Linked DNA regions of Homo sapiens: regions 1, 2, 3, 4, 5 and 6 are each linked to region 7. Evidence: promoter capture Hi-C in human tissues and cell types (Jung and others, 2019). All regions are on one chromosome and are shown on one strand. The core of a region is centred on a gene start or on the middle of the fragment in contact, and the rest is flanking DNA. Distances in the headings are between cores, read along the strand shown.

The links. Contacts are between HindIII fragments. The study calls those that stand out against the background at their distance.
Region 1: a fragment that was not itself captured here is called in contact with the fragment with the promoter of CITED2 in region 7 in 1 of the 25 tissues and cell types used here (dorsolateral prefrontal cortex).
Region 2: a fragment that was not itself captured here is called in contact with the fragment with the promoter of CITED2 in region 7 in 1 of the 25 tissues and cell types used here (spleen).
Region 3: a fragment that was not itself captured here is called in contact with the fragment with the promoter of CITED2 in region 7 in 1 of the 25 tissues and cell types used here (dorsolateral prefrontal cortex).
Region 4: a contact is called between a fragment that was not itself captured here and the fragment with the promoter of CITED2 in region 7, in 1 of the 25 tissues and cell types used here (lymphoblastoid cells).
Region 5: a fragment that was not itself captured here is called in contact with the fragment with the promoter of CITED2 in region 7 in 1 of the 25 tissues and cell types used here (heart left ventricle).
Region 6: a contact is called between a fragment that was not itself captured here and the fragment with the promoter of CITED2 in region 7, in 1 of the 25 tissues and cell types used here (dorsolateral prefrontal cortex).

The regions. Positions count from the first base shown.
Region 1 is chr6:140,761,730-140,764,566 of GRCh38, reverse strand. All of the region lies in intron 5 of LOC105378027 (a long non-coding RNA gene), which reads right to left. It also overlaps the pseudogene RPS3AP24. Among named protein-coding and RNA genes, the nearest start is that of MIR4465, 79 kb to the right of the region's middle. The HindIII fragment of the contact is 5,829 bases long and covers 1-2,837 here.
Region 2 is chr6:140,897,675-140,900,374 of GRCh38, reverse strand. LOC102723724 (a long non-coding RNA gene) reads left to right here and starts at 1,951. Exons shown (of 7, transcript XR_428030.5): 1 at 1,951-2,187. It overlaps LOC124901413 (a long non-coding RNA gene), which reads right to left. Exons shown (of 3, transcript XR_007059792.1): 3 at 2,196-2,700. The HindIII fragment of the contact is 5,294 bases long and covers 1-2,700 here.
Region 3 is chr6:140,827,309-140,830,097 of GRCh38, reverse strand. LOC102723724 (a long non-coding RNA gene) reads left to right here. Exons shown (of 7, transcript XR_428030.5): 3 at 1-2,789. Among named protein-coding and RNA genes, the nearest start is that of MIR4465, 140 kb to the right of the region's middle. The HindIII fragment of the contact is 3,458 bases long and covers 1-2,789 here.
Region 4 is chr6:140,733,633-140,736,332 of GRCh38, reverse strand. The region is part of intron 4 of LOC105378027 (a long non-coding RNA gene); the gene reads right to left. Among named protein-coding and RNA genes, the nearest start is that of MIR4465, 51 kb to the right of the region's middle. The HindIII fragment of the contact is 6,112 bases long and covers 1-2,700 here.
Region 5 is chr6:141,256,619-141,259,497 of GRCh38, reverse strand. No RefSeq gene overlaps it. Among named protein-coding and RNA genes, the nearest start is that of MIR4465, 570 kb to the right of the region's middle. The HindIII fragment of the contact is 9,295 bases long and covers 1-2,879 here.
Region 6 is chr6:141,318,603-141,321,560 of GRCh38, reverse strand. No RefSeq gene overlaps it. Among named protein-coding and RNA genes, the nearest start is that of MIR4465, 640 kb to the right of the region's middle. The HindIII fragment of the contact is 4,420 bases long and covers 1-2,958 here.
Region 7 is chr6:139,373,292-139,376,266 of GRCh38, reverse strand. It overlaps CITED2 (Cbp/p300 interacting transactivator with Glu/Asp rich carboxy-terminal domain 2), which reads left to right and starts at 1,619. Exons shown (of 2, transcript NM_006079.5): 1 at 1,619-1,854; 2 at 2,315-2,975. The coding sequence starts at 2,323. RefSeq lists silencers at 771-1,080, 1,251-1,630, 2,091-2,240, 2,811-2,910 and enhancers at 1,781-1,950, 2,461-2,520. The HindIII fragment of the contact is 4,975 bases long and covers 50-2,975 here.

The DNA of each region.
Region 1 (2,837 bases), core at 336-2,835, 1.4 Mb before region 7:
GCATCTATAAAAATATCTTTGTTTAGTTCAGACAGGAGATTTTTTAAAAGTACCAACCAGTAGTTACTTAAAAAATAATTTTAGTAAACTACTTTATATTCATAGTCTCACTTACACTGTGAAACTTCAATGAAACAGTGACGAGCATATTTTTTGTAGAGTATACACAAGCTGATAACAAAATTTCTTTCTTCCTTACTCATAATCTTATGTCCTGTTCATTTTTTCCTTTAACTTAGGTGGCAGTAAAAAATGTTTTCCAAATATGGCTATTTACTGAAATAATAGGGTAATTAGTTTGATTAAACTGATGACCAACTCAGGCAAACAAATTCTGTCAACACAATCTGTTTATTAACTTAGGGAATATTCATAAATTAATGCAAATTGTGTCCAAATGCAATAATTTATGTAGATAGATCCCTGGCCAACCATGGAAAGCTAAACAACTTTTCGGAATATGCTTAGAAACCAATTAAAAGATAAATTTGACAAAGAGGAAAGAAAGTCAATCATGGATAAGAATCCGATTCGTGTACATTAATTTCTTTTACGAAAGATGTGCAACTTGATTTGAATCTGAAAACATGACTGACAAGGAAAACAGATGTGGGAAGCAAAATAATAGCCCACCAAAGTTGTCCAATCCTAATCCTCCCACCTGAATCCTGCTAAATGTTATGTCGTGGCAAAGAGACTTTGCTGACGTGATTAGGGTAATGACCTTAACTAACCTGGAGTATCTGGTGGACCCAATCTGATCACTATGAGTCCTTTAGAAGTGGAAGATGGGGCAGGAGAAGACAGTCATATTGATGCCAGGTGAGATGAACTTGACTCATCATTGCTGACCTTAAAGGGGGATGTAGGTCAAGGAATATGGGAAGCTTCTAGAACCTGGAAAAGGCAAGGACACAGAGTGTCCCCTGGAAACTCCAGAAGGAAGTGGAACGTTGCTGACACCTTAGTTTTAGCCCAGTGAAACCTATGTCAAACTCCTGATCTAGAGACTTGTAGAATAATAAGGCACTAACTTTGTAGTAACTTGTTCCAGTAGCAACAGAAAACTAATACTTCAAATAAAACAGCAGTGAGTCAAGAGTGCAAATTCTAAGTTATGCCTTCTTTGTGGCATTATATTCATTATGTAACTACTTTATTTCCATTATAACACTCTAATAAAAGTAACAGCATTCGCACATCCAAGGTTTACCCCTGTAAAAAAATTAACAAAATAAACAAACTAGGGAAACCTATTAATGTAAATAAAGAAAATAAAAACAATCATAAATATAATACATTGCGCAAAATTGCTTTCATGATTAATTTGCTAAAGTTGAAAACATCAATGAAATGGATGATTTTCTAAATAAATATGTGATTTTATATACTACACAGAGAAGTCAGTGAATCAATAACTGACAATAACATTGAGAAACTTATAAAAATGTTTATTAATTTTTACGGAATTATTTTATTTTCTCACAGAAATGAATTAATTGGCATTTTATAAACTGTTCAGGTCATAAGAGATAAGAAGCTACATAAATCATAATATGAAAAAATAGATATGAATCCTATAAATAATTAGCATGGAAATAGAAGCATGAGTTAACAATGATCAGTATACTAATTTTCAAAAAGAAGTATAAAGACAATCAATATAAGCAGACTACTTAAACAATTTATAATATAAGTAAGTTAAATAAATACATTTCATTCTCATACAGTGTGACCAACTTGATTGGATATGCTAGAACACAAATTGGTATTCAAAAATGTTATAAGGAAAATTAACAAAAGATGTTTTATTTTCAAAGTAAATACACTTTAAACAAAATACATTATAATGAATGATGGAATATCAATATGTATTAAAATTATCAACTTGAGGAAGATGTCTGTTATTATCACTATTTGTAAGATTCCTTTTGAAAGTTATGTTTCATGAATTTAGAATAAAACAGAAATAAGAGAGCTACAGTGGAAGAAGACTAAAAGGCCATTATTTTATACAATGTGTATATGCACTAAAATACCAAGGAAATAAATTGAAAAACTTTGGACACAAAGAATAATTCAGTACAATGCCTGATAATAGGAGGTCTATAAATAGGTTTTCTGAGGCAGAAAATAGATTGCTAATATTGCCAAACAGAAAAACACTCAGAAGTCTTATCTATAGGAAAAGGGATGTATCTTTCTTACAATACAACAGAAAAAAATTATATAGAAAGCAATATCATGATGTTTTTTTTTCTTCACATACAGGATTTTTGTTTGTCACTATTAAACATCTGAATTTTAAACAGATTCTTGGACTGGCAGTTCATATCCATAAGCTTTTCAAGAACTACTACCTTCAAGTTTTCCCAGTTCAAACTTTGAATTTTCTAGTGAAGACATCATTGAGAGTATAAATAAATTGGCAAATCTTTTTATGACCTTTTAATGAGTTTTTCAAAGCTGCGTGGGATCCATTTATTAACTGCTTCTTTCAGGAAATCTCTCTGCACCTCTTGGGTGGGAAGCTTCATCATCTTCTTCTGGATTTGGCAGACCTGTTGGTGCTGAGAATAAGAGGTCTTCTGTATCTGATTGTTGTATTTTTTTTTTTTTTTTGTAAAACTAACACAGAATAGACAAATCAAATAGCCATTGGTAGTCTTGACATTGACGTGAACTTCAGGTATGGTCTGCCATTTTTTGACCGTGAAACACATTTTGTCACAAGTAAGATTCATGCCATGGACGTTAAGCAGTTTTTATCCTGAACATCCTCAGTAATTAGCTTGAACTTTCTAAATACAACATCATTCTTCAGATCAGAAAGGCTC
Region 2 (2,700 bases), core at 201-2,700, 1.5 Mb before region 7:
TAACCAGATTGACCCATAGAAGGCTCAGGTAGAAACCTAGAAGACCGTTCACTAACCACAATGACAAGAAGGCAAGATATCTCAAAGCTCGAAAAAGTCTAGAGAATTTTGTTAAAGGTAACATAGAAAAATAATGATAGAAGAAACCAAGGTTCTTTAACTTTTATTTTTATGCCATTTTATTGTGACACTACATATACTGAATTCTTGTCAACCACTAACATTTATAATACAGATCTTACATCTCACAAGAAAACAGAGAGTGAGCAACCTCCTAGAATGAAAAGAGCTTCATGTGCAAGGCTCTTGAACTCCTATAGAAAGAACTGATATAGTTATTACCATAATTAATATATACATTATATCCAGGAAAGCCTTATGAGTAGTCAGGTATTGGGATTAATAAATAAGGCAAGATTGTGTCCTTAGGTGTCATCAAGAACTGCAGGATACTTCTTCAATTCTTAAAATCTGGAAATTACAGTGAATCAGTTATCTGAAGCTCAAGAAGAAGTTAATTCTGCTTTATCTTAGTGGTTACTACTTTTAGTCAGAATTTTAGACGAGAAAACTGTAATTACAAAGAGGGAAGATGTCACAAGATGAAGTCCAAACCTCAAAAGTGCTGTTAATAATGGTTATTCTTTCACTTATAGTATAATCACTCTCAGCAGATATAATCTTGAAAGTAAAATATTAATGTAAAATAATGGTATTAAAATCTTGTCTGAAATTAGTAGAATTATCTCAGTGGCAATGCCAAAGTTCACCTATTTCATGTATATATTATAACTGTATCAACATAATCAATAAAAGTAAGTGGTCACTAACTAGAGTTCTGAAGGAGTTTCAGGACAGAGGATCAGAACTCACTGAAAGAAAATGGGTCTTTGTAAATACTTGAGCACTTTCAATTGTATCAACACAAACTAATAAGGTTAAATTTTTTCTTTACACTCTGATTCTTTGAATAAACTAAATGAATAGCCAAGAAAATTGGGTTAAAATGAAATTTAAAAGACTATTCTAGGTACTTTTCTATTCTATTTTCATTTATACTGAAATATTTCACGTCAGTTAAGAAACTCTGTTCCTACTTACTAATCATTTTCCACAGAAATTATGTGTTCAAAATTAGAGTTTATAATATTTGTAGAATTGCGTGTTTAATATATTTATTTCAATATCCCCAAACTTAAATTTCTTGGTAACTCAGAAGAAAAAAATCCTTAGAAATGGATGATGACTGAAGACAATACTAGAGAAGGATCTACAACTATTCATGAGTAAGCCTCCAAGATCTCTCTGCAAACAGTTAACTAGTTTTTACATTGTATAGAGGGTGTTTGTGTGTGAATGGAAACCGTCTATGAAGTTTCAAGTACTAGATATACTTAGGAGTGAAGGAGTGGAAATAAAGTAAAGCTTGGGTCAGTAAAAACAACAACAAAAACAACCATAGAGATCAGTCAAATTGAATCATGTAAAGTGACTCACTGTATGGAATAACTATGCCAGGGAAGACTAAGGTGAAAATAATGTTGATTTCATGGTGGAAGTCAGAATAAACATTTTAAGCCTAAATTCCTGATAGAGCTGGAATACCTAGAACTATTGAAGGTAACCAAATAATGTGTAAGAAAAATTTTCTGTGACAAATTATTAGATATTTCTAAGAGATTTAAACATAAAACTAAATTAATCTTAAACTGTCAAGTTTAACACCTGAAATCTTCACTTTGCTAACTTTATTAACATTTAGAGATTAGGGAATTCTTTTATAATTTTCCCTTCCTATTTTTTTCTGCCCATACCACTCCTCCTCCTGACTCTGAGACAGCCAAGTGGGAGGGGGGACCTCACAGAAACTCCAGCCAGCCTGCCCACTGGGGTGGAGCCTGGGGAAGTTCAAGCCCTTTGCAGGGAGGAGGAGCCTGGCCCCTCCTCTTCCTGTGTGGAAGCTGGGATTCCAATGGCAGGCAGGAAATCTTGTAGTAGGTGATCGTGGCCTTCCTTGGGATCCCTGTTTCCCCCTTTTATTCCCTTTTCACCCAGTAAAACCCTGCTTTGCTCACTCTTTAAAGCATCTGTGAGCGTAAATTTTTGTGGCCATGGGATGGACAAGAACCACATGTTTACCTGAAGTCCTGTGACATTTTGGTGTGCAGCATGGGAGCTCCAAAAGTGGTGAGTAAAATGAGGGCTCAAAATCTGTCACTGTTGTTTCTAAGTCTTTACATCCTCGGACTTCTGAGGGTGGGGGAACCATGCCCCCACCCCCGTGGCTCCCGGGCCTTTTCATGGCCTTTTCCTTCCTTTTTTGGGACCCATTGCTAAGCAGCAGTTCCTTGCCCTGCTGGGGCTGGGACGCATGGCCCAAGGGTCCCACACAGCTGGCTGGCTGGTTCCCAACCACAAGCCACCGCAGCCTTCCCCTTTCCTGGCCAAAGGGTTTAGCTTTATCGGACAGTAATTAAGCTTTACCTCTGGTGGAGGAACCAGTTGCATAAGAATAAGAGGTTCTTCCCCAGGCATTTTTAAACTTTTTTTTTCTTCCCCTTTTCCCTTTTCTACCCAACAGCAGTTAACCTTTAAAGGTATTTTTTCCCCTTTTAGAAGATGTTTTTACTAAACCAGGCTCCCCCCACAACTATCCAACTATCACTGTTTGTACACTTTGTAAAGTTTTGGTTGTGAAAA
Region 3 (2,789 bases), core at 49-2,548, 1.5 Mb before region 7:
CTAGACTCTTAGGAGAAAAAGTGATTTTGACAATGCTTAGGAATAAAATAACCGAATACTACTTAAGTGTTTCTGCGGTGCTTTATGGGCTGGCAAATGGTCAGTTACACACACAATGCCACAGCTTTCTTCTGACATAAGCTTTTCATTATTCTCCCTTGCTGTGTGTTGTGTCTCTTCTTTGTTTCTTTCTTTTTTTTTTGAGACGGAGTCTCGCTCTGTCACCCAGACTGGAGTGCAGTGGCTCGATCTCGGCTCACTGCAAGCTCCGCCTCTTGGGTTCACGCCATTCTCCTGCCTCAGCCTCCTGAGTAGGTGGGACTAAAGGCGCCCGCCACCACGCCTGGCTAATTTTTTGTATTTTTAGTAGAGACAGGTTGTCACCGTGTTAGCCAGGATGGTCTCGATCTCCTGACCTCGTGATCCGCCCGCCTCGGCCTCCCAAAGTGCTGGGATTACAGGCGTGAGCCACCGCGCCCGGCCTTGCTGTGTGTCTCATCTAGCATCGTTGGCGGGGCTCACAATAGCGCATCTGATTTTATGCATAGCTTACTATCTTTCAACATGCTGAAGCAGCAGGAGTTGAAAAAAAAAGGAGAGTGTTAATGGAATATAGGAAAAAGAAGGAGGAATCAGCAGAAAGAAAAAGAGAAAGGTACCACCGACGATTCTTTTAGGGCCCCTGGTTCCTTTAATTTTCCTTTTTGTTTCTCAGTGATCTGACATCAAAGACCCAGGCTAGACGTAGGTCTGGCTAAATTTATCTGATGACGTGATCAGTTCCAGCATCCTTTAAGTTTTGTGGAATAAAAAGTAAATAAAAAGATTTGAATCAATCAGATACCTGCTGAAATTAACCAGTCAATTTATTTAAACGGTTCATTGAGCAGTCCGGTGACGTGACAATCACACAGCTAGTGGGAAAATGAAAGAAAAAGAGCGGTCGGCTGGCTAGTTTTTATATATGATGACAATCATTCAACTTGAAGTCTCATTTGTTCTTCCCTTCACAGTTTGCCAGACCTGACTGGTTATTTTCGTAACAGAAAGACATAGACATAGTCTCTGCCAAATCTGCTTCACGATCAAGTTTAGTGAGTCAAGCAAGACTATTCATTGAGCATTCATAAGTGCTATGACAAGGAGCTACAGATTTTAGGAAATATGATTATTCAATAAATTAGACATAGCCACACTCCTCAATCATCATTCCAAAGGAGGATATAAGACAACTGCACATAAATAATTATCAAGAACACTGCAAGGAAGAAATTATAATAGAAGAGAAATTTAGTTGAAATGTTAGTGATCTTATAATCAATTTACAGCTAAATTCAAGAATTCCTCTTAAACTACGTCAGTAATCCTCAAGTGTGTGCATATTTGCAAATCATAAATTTGTAAAGATATTTCTAAATCTAAACATTAAGAGAAGGGGGGATAAAACATTGTGGATATGAAAGATATCCTACCATTGATAAAATATTTGATCTTGTGACACGAACAACACCCACAATACAAAATATACAAGAAATTTTTATTATCCAATAAAATGACAACTGGGTGATGTCAGAAAAAGATAAATTGATATAGAAATATTTGTGGATTGATAACTCAAAAATTCTCAATTGGAAAAATTCTACTATAATACTTGGTTCTTGGAAATGTGGCCATTCAATTAATTAAGCACTGGAAGAATTGCTTTTTGCAAATTATTACTAAGTGATTCATTTTTGCTTCACTTGCCTGCATACCAGGAACATACTACATTCTGGGGTATTCAGTTTTTCTTATACTGAAAGTTTCCTCTCTTTTGATTCTACTTTAAGGTCTCAGTTCTATTCCTAATAAGATGGTAGTGACTACCTCTGTATGTTTACTCATATACCATATTGTATCTAATCTATAGCATACCATATAACTGATGTTATTATGAGGAGTGGAGCCACATCAAGTGATGCTTTAGAAATGTATATGGATTTTTTGGTTGTAAAAGTGTATTGGGAGTAACCGCACACATTTCACTGGGGGATGGCTGGGGTACCAGATGTCCTGCAGTGCATAAGTTCATCATATAACATGAAGAAAAACTTTTCAGCCCCTGCAAGACCTTTTGACCTCTTTTGAACTCCTGTCAGTTATTCATGCAAAGTCGAGTGAGGAGACTCTGTATTATTTGGACCAAGAACCAAATTATCTTTTACTTATAAACAAAATAATTTGTACTGTTTTAATTTAAATTTTCCAGAAAACAACTATAAGGTAAATTTAAAAAAGAGCATACTTTGTTGTTTGAAATTTCACCAAAATAAAATTGCATCATCAATAAGAATGTCACTTTAGTGTTTGAGGGAATAATTCCAAACTGTACTTTTCTGTATTTGTAGTTACTAGGTTTGTATTTATTTTATGTATCACTGTGATCTTCTGACCACTCAACTGTACCTCATATACTTTTATGCTTTTTAAATCTGTAAACGTATCAAGAGATTTTAAAAACTGAAAATGCAGATGGAAACCTGCATTTTATTTCTATTCTCCTTGTTGGGAATGTTTTCTCATAATAGTTCCTAAAAATAACTACTATGGCGTTAATCATTTATAAAATAAGATAATGATCATTTTATATACCCCCTGTACATATTGACTTAATAATGTCTGTAAGACTTAGATTTAAAGCAATGCAAAGAAAGATTCAAATGAAGGCAGTGTGGGCATGGTGGTTCTACATTTTTTTGAGTGGAACTTCATTCATTAAGTATTTTAATTTCATTAACTTTAAGACTTTA
Region 4 (2,700 bases), core at 11-2,510, 1.4 Mb before region 7:
TCCATGTGGAACATGTGAGAGGAGTATGTATTTAGAAACAGTGGAATTTTAAAAATGTGTTTATGATGGCAAAAGAAGAAAAATAGGAGGAAACTGTGTTAAATACCACTTAATTTGGCTGTATTGCATTAGTATTCCTGTTTTACACATTTTTGGTCTGTGTTTATTAAGAGATTGAACATTGGATCTGAGATATTAAGCTCCATATTACCTGGAAGTCAAAGATCTACCTCGGTATCACCTGTCTCTATTTTCTGCCAAATTAAGTATTTATTATATGGGAACAGTATTCTACAAGTCTAGATTCATTTGGTTAGAACAAGTTTGGAGTTGAGTAAAAAGGGGTTAAAAGATAGAAAATTCATTTTAAAATAAGTAATTGACCAAAGTAATCAATTGTCATAAGTGATTTTCTTCAAGAAATTGTCCTATAAAACTGGGATCATTTACACTGAGTCTAGCTGGATAATTCTAAATATACATATTTTTCACCAGAAAAATAAATAAATAAATAAAATTAATACAATCTAAAGGTAGCATTATATAACTTAAGATTTACTTTTGGCCAGTCGCGGTGGCTCACGCCTGTAATCCCAGCACTTTGTGAGGGTGAGGCAGGTGGATCACGAGATCAGGAGATGGAGACTATCCTGGCCAACATGGTGAAACCCTGTCTCTACTAAAAATACAAAAATTAGCCAGGCGTGGTGGCGCGGGCCTGTAGTCCCAGCTACTCAGGAGGCTGAGGCAGGGGAATCGCTTGAACCCAGGAGGCAGAGGTTGCAGTGAGCCGAGATCACGCCACTGCACTCCAGCCTGGGCCGACAGAGCAAGACTCTGTCTCAAAAAAACAAAACAAAACAAAACAAAAAAAGGACTTACTTTTGTTTAAAAATTTTAGGTGTTAAACAACATAAATATTATATAAATATCTTTTTTTTTTTTTGAGACAGAGTCTCACTCTGTCACCAGGCTGGAGTGCAGTGGTACAATCTCGGCTCATTGCAGCCTCCACCTCCTGGGTTCAAGCCATTCTCCTGCCTCAGCCTCCAGAGTAGCTGGGACTACAGGCGCCCGCCACCACACCCAGCTAATTTTTGTATTTTTAGTAGGGACGGGGTTTCACCACGTTGGCCAGGAGGTTCTCAAACTCTTGACCTCGTGATCCACCGGCCTCAGCCTCCCAAAGTGCTGGGATTACAGGCGTGAGCCACCGCGCCGGGCCAAATATCTTATTTTTTTAATGAAGTCTTGAATTTTTTTTTTTTTCTAAACCATGTTTTGGTCATTCACTAGTAGAAGTCACATGAGTATTCTATTGGCAAGGACAACTTCATGGATTAAAAACCTGTGCAGTCTTACAGGGCCCTGTGGTTCTGCTAATGCTCTGATACCATCACTTTGAAATGAATAATAAATAATGAACAAGTAGTTGCACATATCTATTTTGCACTAGAACTTGCAAATTAAGTGCCTGGTCTTGGCTGATGGAGTTGGGTGATGCTAGGCAAACATAATTTATTTCTTTAAAACACTCTTGGTTATATAAAACAGGTCTTGATGGTTAGTGTGCTGAGAAAAATACATCATTGCTCTTTTAAAATACTTTGAAAAGGAAGTAATTCAATAGAGATATTTTGGGAACCATTTCAATAATAATATGCAAACAAATTTCTTTAAGAATATTTTAATGAAACAGGATTAGCACAAGGAACTAAGTATTAGATGTGTGGAAAATTTGCAGAGGTGCCTGAATATAGCAGGACTAGTTTCCTAAGACGTTTCTTTACAGACTATTATCAAATCTATTATAAATGCTTGTGATTAGAAAATGACTTAAATATAGATTATCTACTATCTATCATTTTTCTTTCTAACTCAGTGGCTCTCACACCTTTCTACATGCAGTGGCATGCTCAGCAGTGGTTTTGAATTTAAGTATTCTGGTTTATTAAGCCCAGTGTAAGGCCATAGCAATCACTATTAACAAACACCTGTAGGTAGTCCTAAATGAAGCTCATCCATGCATCATGCTTTAAAAAATACTGATCTAGGTATTATAGGTCTGTCTCCATCCATCTGGGCTCCCATAACAAAGTACCGTAAACTGGGTGCCTTATAAACAAACAAAATTTATTTCTTAATATTCTGAAGGTTGGGAAGTCCAAGATTAAGACAGCCTTTGTGTCTGATATGGGCCCACTTTTCAGATAATAAAGGGCACCTTCTATCTATATCCTCACATGTGGAAAGAACAGGGAGTCTCTCTAGGGCTTCTTTTATAAAGACATTAATCCCATTTATGAAGGCTATGTCCCCATGACCTAATAACCTCCCCAAAGCCCACTCTCTAATACCATCATGGGAATTAGGATTTCAATGTAGGAATTTTGGGGGATACATTCATACCACAACAATATTCAATTGGTTTGAAAGTGAAAGTGCATTTTTCACCCATTAAACAACCCTATCACTAGATTCCTTATTAATGAATTGAATGCTTTAGGTATACAATAAATGTTTTTGAAGAAATAAACAATTTCAGATAGGAGTTATGCTTTTGGTTTTATGGAAAAGTTTCCTCCAATGAGTAGAAGATCAAAATCCCTCAGTAAAAGAGCTGGATAGATAATGTAAAGAGAAAGCTATGGTTAAATCTAAAACAAACATTTAGAGAATTTATACTATCCTCTTTGATGG
Region 5 (2,879 bases), core at 3-2,502, 1.9 Mb before region 7:
TGGATTTTTTTCAAATGCTTATCGTCTATCCATTTAGATGATCATGTGGTTTTTCTTTTTAATACCATTGATATTGTACATTACATTAATTTGCTTTGGAATAAGTAAAACAACTTTAAATTTCTGGAATAAATTCATTTATTTATAATGTTGCATAACACTTTTTATATGTGGTTGGATTCAGTTTGCTTGTATGCTGTCCAGGATTTTTGCATCTGTTTTCATACTTAACAGTCTGTAATTTTCTTGCGATGCCTTTGTTTGGTTTTAGTATCGGGGTCAGGGTATTACTGGCCTTACAAAATAAGGTGGTACTCCCCTCTTGTAATTTTGGAAGAGTTTGAAAAGAATTTTTAATTCTTTAAACTTTTGGTAGAATTCACCAGTGAAGTCATCTGAGGCTGGCATATTCTTGTGTGGATAGATTCAGATTACTAATTCAACTTATTTATTTGTCATAGGCCCACACAAATTATTTTTGTTTTGTTTTATTTTGTTTTGTTTTGTTTTTGAGACAGAGTCTTGCTCTGTCAACCAGGCTGGAGTGCAGTGGTGCTATCTCAGCTCACTGCAACCTCCACTTCCTGGGTTCAAGCGATTCTCCTGCTTCAGTCTCCAGAGTAGCTGGGACAACAGACATGTCCCACCATGCCCGGCTAATTTTTGAATTTTTAGTAGAGACGGGGTTTTACCATGTTGGCTAGGCTGGTCTTGAACTCCTGGTCTCAGGTCATTTGCCCGCCTTGGCCTTCCAAAGTGCTGGTATTGCAGATGTGAGCCACTGCATCCGGCCCAACTTGTATTTTTAATCTGAAATCATTTTTGGTAGTTTGCATCTTTCTGGGAATTTTTCCATTTTAACAAAGTTGTGTAATTAGTTGGCATTCAAATATTCATAGTACTCTTTTACAACATTTTTTAATTTCCTTGAAGTTGGTTATAATGTTGCCTTCCTCATTTCTAATTCTAGTAACTTGAGAATTTTCTCTTCTTAATTGATCTACCTGGATAAGGTTTGTCGATTTGTTAATCTTTTTCTAAAACTCAGTTTTCAATGCAATTGATTTTCTCTATTGTTTTTCTATTATTTATTTCATTAATTCCCTCTCTAACTTTTATTCTATTATGCTTTCTGCTTGCTTTACATAGTTTTCTCTTTTTTCCCCAGTGTCCTCATCATGCAAGTGGAAAATTGATTTCAGATCTTTATTCTTTCTAAATAAAGGTATATACAGTTATTAATCTCCCTGTAATCACTGCTTTAGTTACATACTATATGTTTGAACATGTTGTTCCTTTATTTTCATTAATCTGATAGTAATTTCAAAATTTCCTTTTGGTTTCATCTTCGACTCATTGATTATTTAGGAATATGTGGTTTTATTTTCACATGTTTGTGAGTTTTCCAAATTTCTTTCTCTAATTGATATCTAATTTTATTCAGCTGTGGTTAGAGAAGACACTTCACATCATTTGTAGTTTTTAAAATCTATTGAAGTTTATTTTGGGCCAAGCACATGGTCTACCTTGTGAGTTTTCAACTTTACTGTAGAAAAACTTGTGTTCTGTTGCTCTTAGGTGGCAGGTTTCACAGACATTTATGGTGTTCTAAAGATGACCAGCTGGTTTATAATGTTGTTCAAGTCATTTATTTTCTTGTTAATCTTTACTAGATTTTTTATCCATTATTGAAATTGAGGTATTGAACTTTCCAATTATTGCTGTCAAACTGTGTCTTTACTGCTTTTTTTTTGTTTCATGTATTTTGGCACTCTGTTTTTAATTGCATATATGTTTACAATTGTTATATCCTTGTGGTAGATGTTTTTATTATTATAAAATATTCCTCTTTATCTCTCTAGAAACTTTTTAAAATTCGTTTTTAAGGCTTTTTATCTGATGTCAGTAGAGCCACTATATCTTTCTTGTGATGGCAGTTTGCATGAAATATCTTTTCCAGCTTTCACTTTCACACTATTGCATCTTTGAATCAGAAATATGTCCCTTGTAGACAGAATATGATTGATGCTTATTTTGTGTTGTTTTGCTTTAATCCTGTCTGGCAATTTGCCTTTTCATTGGATTGTTTAATGTATTCCAATTTAATATTACTGTGGATATAATTGGATTTACATCTGCCATTTTACCTTTTGTTCTCTATATGTGGCATGTCATTTTTGTTCCTCTATCCTCCTTTAATATCTTTTTTTGCTTTAAGTGAATATTTTATAATGTAACACTTTAATAATTTTAATTATTTACTCTTTCAGTGTTTACCTTAATGGTTGACCTAGGACTTGCCCCCTATATCTTTTCAGCTACATCTTTATATTCACATTCACTTAATTTCAGTGAAATATGTAAATTTTTCCCCCATATAGCTCTATTCACTTTGGGTATTATTGTTCTACAAATTATATCTATGAATATTATGCATTCAACAATACAGTTATAATTATTACTTTACATGATTTTGTCATTCAAAGAAGAAATAAGTAAGTATAATACATATTTATAGATTTCATTATTTTAATTTTCTTATATATCATTTCTGATTCTCTTCATGTGTTCCTTTACTATGAGTTACTGTCTTCAGTCTACTTGAAGTTCTTTGAGATTTTTAAATGCATAGATTAATATTTTTCAAAAAATTTGAGACATTCCAGCAATTATTTATTTTAATTTCTTTTTCTGATTCTTTATTTCTCTCTACCCACACTGATTCTCCTACTATATGTATATTAATGCACTTAAAGGTGACCAACATGTCTCTGAAGCTCTGTTAAATTTTTTTCACTAATTTCTCTGGTTTTCTGATTGCATAATTTCCATTGGTCAATATTCAAGTTCACTAAGTCTTCTGCCAGTTTATGTCTACT
Region 6 (2,958 bases), core at 313-2,812, 1.9 Mb before region 7:
CAGAGCACTTATCGCAGGCATACTCTAGAATCCTGGAGACTGCTGAGAACAAAAGAGATGTAGGCAGATTGTGACAATTTGAGAAAGCCTGAAATACTATAGACAGCACCAAACAGAATACTATTGGAGTAATAAAGCCAGTAAATTCCTCCAACTGAATATGTGCATGCATAGTTCAAGAGAAGATGCATCCACCGAAAAGGGTTGAGAAGCACCCAGAATCTCTAGATGGGCTAGCCAATAAAGTTCTTTCCTTGTATAAAGCCAGTTCATAACTATTAAGGGAGGTTTATTTGTTTGTTTGTTTTCAAAGGCACAGCTTCCAACAAAAAGTCACAAGTCACATGAAGAAAGAGGAAAACCTCGCCCTATCAAAGAAATTTCCAGAAATCAACCCTAAAGAAAAGCTGTATATAAATCACTTGAAAAAACACTCAATATAACTGTCATCAAGATGCTCAATGACCTCATGAAAAAAAATGCATGGAAAAAATTAGAATATCAACGGAGAGGTAGAAAAAATATTTTTTAAAAACAGAAATTTTAGTGCTGAAAAATATAATAACTGGATTGAAAAAAATACTAGAGTTAAACAGCAAACTTGAACAAACAGAAGAAGAAATGAATTTTAAAAACTGGTCAAAAGAGAAAAGAATGAAAAAGAGTGAAGAATGTCTAAGTGATTTATGAGACATTATCAAGCAGACCAATTTATATACCATAAAATTTTCAGAAAGAGAAGAGAGATAAAGAGAATGAGACATAAAGCTTATTTGCAGAAATAATGACTGGAAACTTCAAATCTAAGAAAGAAATAGGAGATACATATATGAGAGATATATATGATATATATATATGAGAGAGATATATATACTATATATGAGAGAGATATATATGATATATATATGAGAGATATATATATATGAGATATCTATCTATCTATCTACCTATCTATCTATCTATCTGTCTATCATCTATCTATATGTGATATATATCTAGCAGTGGGATTGCTGTATCATATGGTAGGTCTCTTTTCAGTTTTTTTGAGGAACTGGAAACTGGTCTCCACAGTGATTTTACTAGTTTACATTCCTACCAGCAATTTATGAAGTTTACCTTTTTTCCACATCATTTCTAGCATTTGTTATGCTCTGTCTTTTGAGAAAAAATAAATCATTTTAACTGGAGTTAGATTATATCTTATTGAAGCTTTAATTTGTATTTCTCTGATGATTGATGATGTTGAGCACCTTATCATATATCTGTTTGCCATTGTGTATTTTCTTTTGAGGAATGTCTATTCAGATCTTTTGCCTATTTTTTAAAAAAAGATTATTATTTTTCCCATTGAGTTGTTTGAACTTCTTAAATATTATAGCTATTATTCCTGGGTCGGATGGATAGTTTGCAAATATTTTCTCCCATTCTGTGGGTTGTCTCTTTACTTTGATGGTTGTAATTATTTGCTGGACAGAAGCTTTTTAACTTGATGTGATCCCATTTGTTCATTTTTTCTTTGGTTGTCTGTGCTTTTGGAATATTGCTCAAGAAATCTTTGCCCAGACCAATGCACTGGGAAGTTTCCCCAAAGTTTTCTTTTAGTAGATTTATATTGTCATATGTTGAATTAAGCCTTTATTCCAGGGTCTGGTTTCATTCTTCTGCACATATATCCAGTTTTTGCAGGACTATTTATTGAAGAGACTGTCAATACCCCTATGTATGTTCTTGGCACGTTTGTCAAAAATGAGTTCATTGTAGATATATTTTTGGTCTATGTGTGTATTTGTAGGTGAAGTGTTTTTCTTGTTGGCAGTAGATCATTGGGTCTTACTTTTTCATTAATTCAGCCACTCCATGTCTTTTGATTGAAGAGTTTAGTCTGTTTATATTCAGTGTTATTATTGATTAGCAAAGATTTACTACTGGTATTTTGTTATTTGTTTTCCAGTTGATTTGTGGTTTTCTCTTCCTTCCTTCTCTCCTTCCTTCTTGATGTCCTTTTAGTGATGATTATTTTCTCTGATGGTATGTTTTAATTTCTTTCTGTTTATTTTTTGTGTAGTTTTTATAGTTTTTTTTTAATTTGAGGTTACTATGAGGCCTGTAAATAACATCTTATAACCCATTACTTTAAACTAGTGACAACTGAACACCGATTTCAAAAACAAGCTGAGAAAAAAGCAAAGAGAAAACTAATAAAAAGTCTACATTTTAACTTAATCCCCCACTCTTTTTAACCTTTTCCTTTGGTATTTATATTTTATCAAATTGTCTATGTCTTGAAAAGTTGTTGTAGTTATTATTTTGGATAGGTTCATCTTTTAGTCTTTTTTACTCAAAACTTGAGTAGTTTATACACCACAATTACAGCATTATAATATTCTGTGTTTGTCTCTTGCTTATTATTACCAGTGAGTTTTTTTTGTTTTTGTTTTTACCTTCAGATGATTTCTAAATGATTGTCAATGTTCATTTATTTCAGATTGAAGAACTCTGCTTAGCATTTATTGTAGGACAAATCTGGTGTTAGCCCTCAGTTTACTTGTCTAGGAAAGCCTTTACTTCTCCTTCATATTGAAGTATATTTTAATGAAATATGCTGTTCTAGGATAACAGTTTTACTCCATCAGCACTTTAAATATGTCATGACATGCTCTCTTGGCCTGTAAGGTTTTCACTGACAAGTCTGCTGTCAGATATAGTGGAGCTTCTTTGTATGTTATTTGTTTCTTTTCTGTTGCTGCTTTTAGTATTCCTTCTTTATCCTTCATCTTTGGAAGTTTGCTTGTTAAGTGTTTTGAGCTAGTCTTCTTTGGATTAAATCCATTTGGTAATGTATAACCTTCTTATACTTGAGTATTGATAACTTTCCTTAGGTTTGCAAAATTCTGTTATTATCCTTTTGAATCAACTTTCTACCTCAATCTCTCTCTACAGCTCTTCTATAAGGCCAAT
Region 7 (2,975 bases), core at 370-2,869:
AATGTATCAGAATTTCCAGTCCTCAAGAAACAGGGCCTTTAAAAGTCTTGTGTGCAAGAAGGGGGAAAAAGACGAGGGGGGGGCGGGGAGGCGGACTCGCTCTTCGCAGCAGGAAGTCTTCAATGGCTATCGAGTTATGAAGAAACAACTGCCCAGAAGTCCTTATTCGGAGCGCTAAACTCGATTTTACCACATAAAGAGCAATGTAAAAGCTCAGAACAGCCCCATCATGGTGTTGGGGAAACAACTCGGCTTCCCCATGTGAGAAAGCCAGAGAGCTCCGACTTGGTAGTAGCCCAGACCTGTGTTAGGGGTTTTATTTGCAAGTCAATGAACCAAACGGGCGACCAGGCTCGTTGTGCCGCGTTGTGGAAGCAAGGTTATTATTATCGCCCATTGCCCCACTGAACAATTTCACTGAAAAGGAAGAGTCCCAGCCGTGTGTGTGCGCGTGGTGCCATACGGGACGTGCAGCTACGTGCCCACCTCCAGAACGACTTTATTTACAAAGCGATTACCACGTTATCTATTTGTTTTCCTTTTCCAGCAAGAGCAGCCTTACTCAGCCCTCAAATTTCTTAATTACAAACCCGTTTGCTTCTAAATCAACCCCAAACCGTCAGGCAGAGCCCGGAGGGAGGCTCTGCAAGTTTGTACACACCCCCACCTCCCGGATCCAGGGCAACAGCAGAAGCAAGTAACTGTGTATGTGCAAAAAGGTGGATCTGGGGACGAGGATCGCTGAGTTTGTTTACAGAGCAGAGACGCCTCAGCTCGGATGCCAAAGCTACCAAGAGCTGCAAACGCAAACTTAGCAGAAGCACACGTACCCCGGGAGCGGCAGGCGGGCCCGAAAGCGCGGACTGGAATTCCAGGGCGCGGGAGCGGGGGTGGCCGGGCCCTCGAGCGCGCTCCGTCCACCTGCAGCGGCTGCCCCTCCCCGCCCCCAGCTCCTGTCCTTGAAAGGAGTGGAGGAAAAAAATGCATCTACAAGCGGTGATCTAGAGTAGGTCTACCCACTGCCCGTATGAAAACACAAAGGCACAGCCTAGGAAGGCGCGCTCAGGAAAGGGCGCATTATTTGTCCGGGTCTTTAAAACCCAACTCGAGGAAGCACAGCCATTCTTCGCTGCCTGTGGAAGCTTTTGCAAAACCGGGGAGGCACAAGGGCACTCTGGAGGGCGGGGGGCGCTGGGCGAGTCCCCTTTTCCCGTAGAGAGCGGGGCAGATCGCTAGGTGAACCGAGTGAGAAAGCTGGGGGTGGGGTAGATCCAGCCTGAGGGGGGCGGTGAGCTCTCCTCGTGGCTATCCCGGCAGGCTCTACCTTCGGGCGGGGCGGCAGGGGAGGATTTTCCCCCTGCCTCGGGGGTGGCTGAGCCAACCTCGCGTTTCTGGGCCGGGAAGAAACCAGAGTCGGGGGGCGACGGGGCGACTGGGCGGCCCCCGGGCCCCGCAGCCTCTGCAGCACGTGCCGCGGGCGGCGGGGACGCGGCTCCGGGACCCGGTCCAGGGTGTTCGCGGTGTTCCGGAATCCGCGTCTTGGCGCCGCCCGCCCTGGAGGCTCTCGCTCCGCCTTTCCGAAATGCCTATATTAACTGTGGCCAAAGCCCTAAGAAACACAGCTCATTGTTGGCAGCTGCCGGGCGGTCCTGCCGAGCTGTGAGGGCAACGGAGGGGAAATAAAAGGGAACGGCTCCGAATCTGCCCCAGCGGCCGCTGCGAGACCTCGGCGCCGACATCGCGACAGCGAAGCGCTTTGCACGCCAGGAAGGTCCCCTCTATGTGCTGCTGAGCCGGTCCTGGACGCGACGAGCCCGCCCTCGGTCTTCGGAGCAGAAATCGCAAAAACGGAAGGTAAGCGCGACGGGCGAAGCTGGCTGGGGCTCTTGCCAGCCCAGTCCTCCGAGGGCAGGGTTTGCCCGGAGGAAGAGCGTGAGGCGAAGCTGGGGAATAACAACAGGATGTGCAACAACAGGATGAGGAGGGCTGATTTAATGCCTGAAGTTCGCAGCAGGGCTACGGGGCACTTCCTTTATTAGGCCACTTCGGGGAGCAAAGGGGGTGTGGGCTCGGGTCCCCCCGCCCGATCGCAGGGGAAGGGGCTGTTTGTGCAGCGTCCGGCTGTGTTATGAGTGGTAGCTCTTCCGTGGTGGCTAGCCCGGGTGCACAGGCTGTTAGTGGGATCTTGGGGGTGGTGGTTCGCAGCCGACGTGCGCCCGGGAATCCTGGGGGGCAGAGGCGAGCAAAAGTGGGGTGCGCTGTGGTGGGCGACACGTGTGGCGCGGGTCTCATTATCTGCCCTTTTCACTTCCAGGACTGGAAATGGCAGACCATATGATGGCCATGAACCACGGGCGCTTCCCCGACGGCACCAATGGGCTGCACCATCACCCTGCCCACCGCATGGGCATGGGGCAGTTCCCGAGCCCCCATCACCACCAGCAGCAGCAGCCCCAGCACGCCTTCAACGCCCTAATGGGCGAGCACATACACTACGGCGCGGGCAACATGAATGCCACGAGCGGCATCAGGCATGCGATGGGGCCGGGGACTGTGAACGGAGGGCACCCCCCGAGCGCGCTGGCCCCCGCGGCCAGGTTTAACAACTCCCAGTTCATGGGTCCCCCGGTGGCCAGCCAGGGAGGCTCCCTGCCGGCCAGCATGCAGCTGCAGAAGCTCAACAACCAGTATTTCAACCATCACCCCTACCCCCACAACCACTACATGCCGGATTTGCACCCTGCTGCAGGCCACCAGATGAACGGGACAAACCAGCACTTCCGAGATTGCAACCCCAAGCACAGCGGCGGCAGCAGCACCCCCGGCGGCTCGGGCGGCAGCAGCACCCCCGGCGGCTCTGGCAGCAGCTCGGGCGGCGGCGCGGGCAGCAGCAACAGCGGCGGCGGCAGCGGCAGCGGCAACATGCCCGCCTCCGTGGCCCACGTCCCCGCTGCAATGCTGCCGCCCAATGTCAT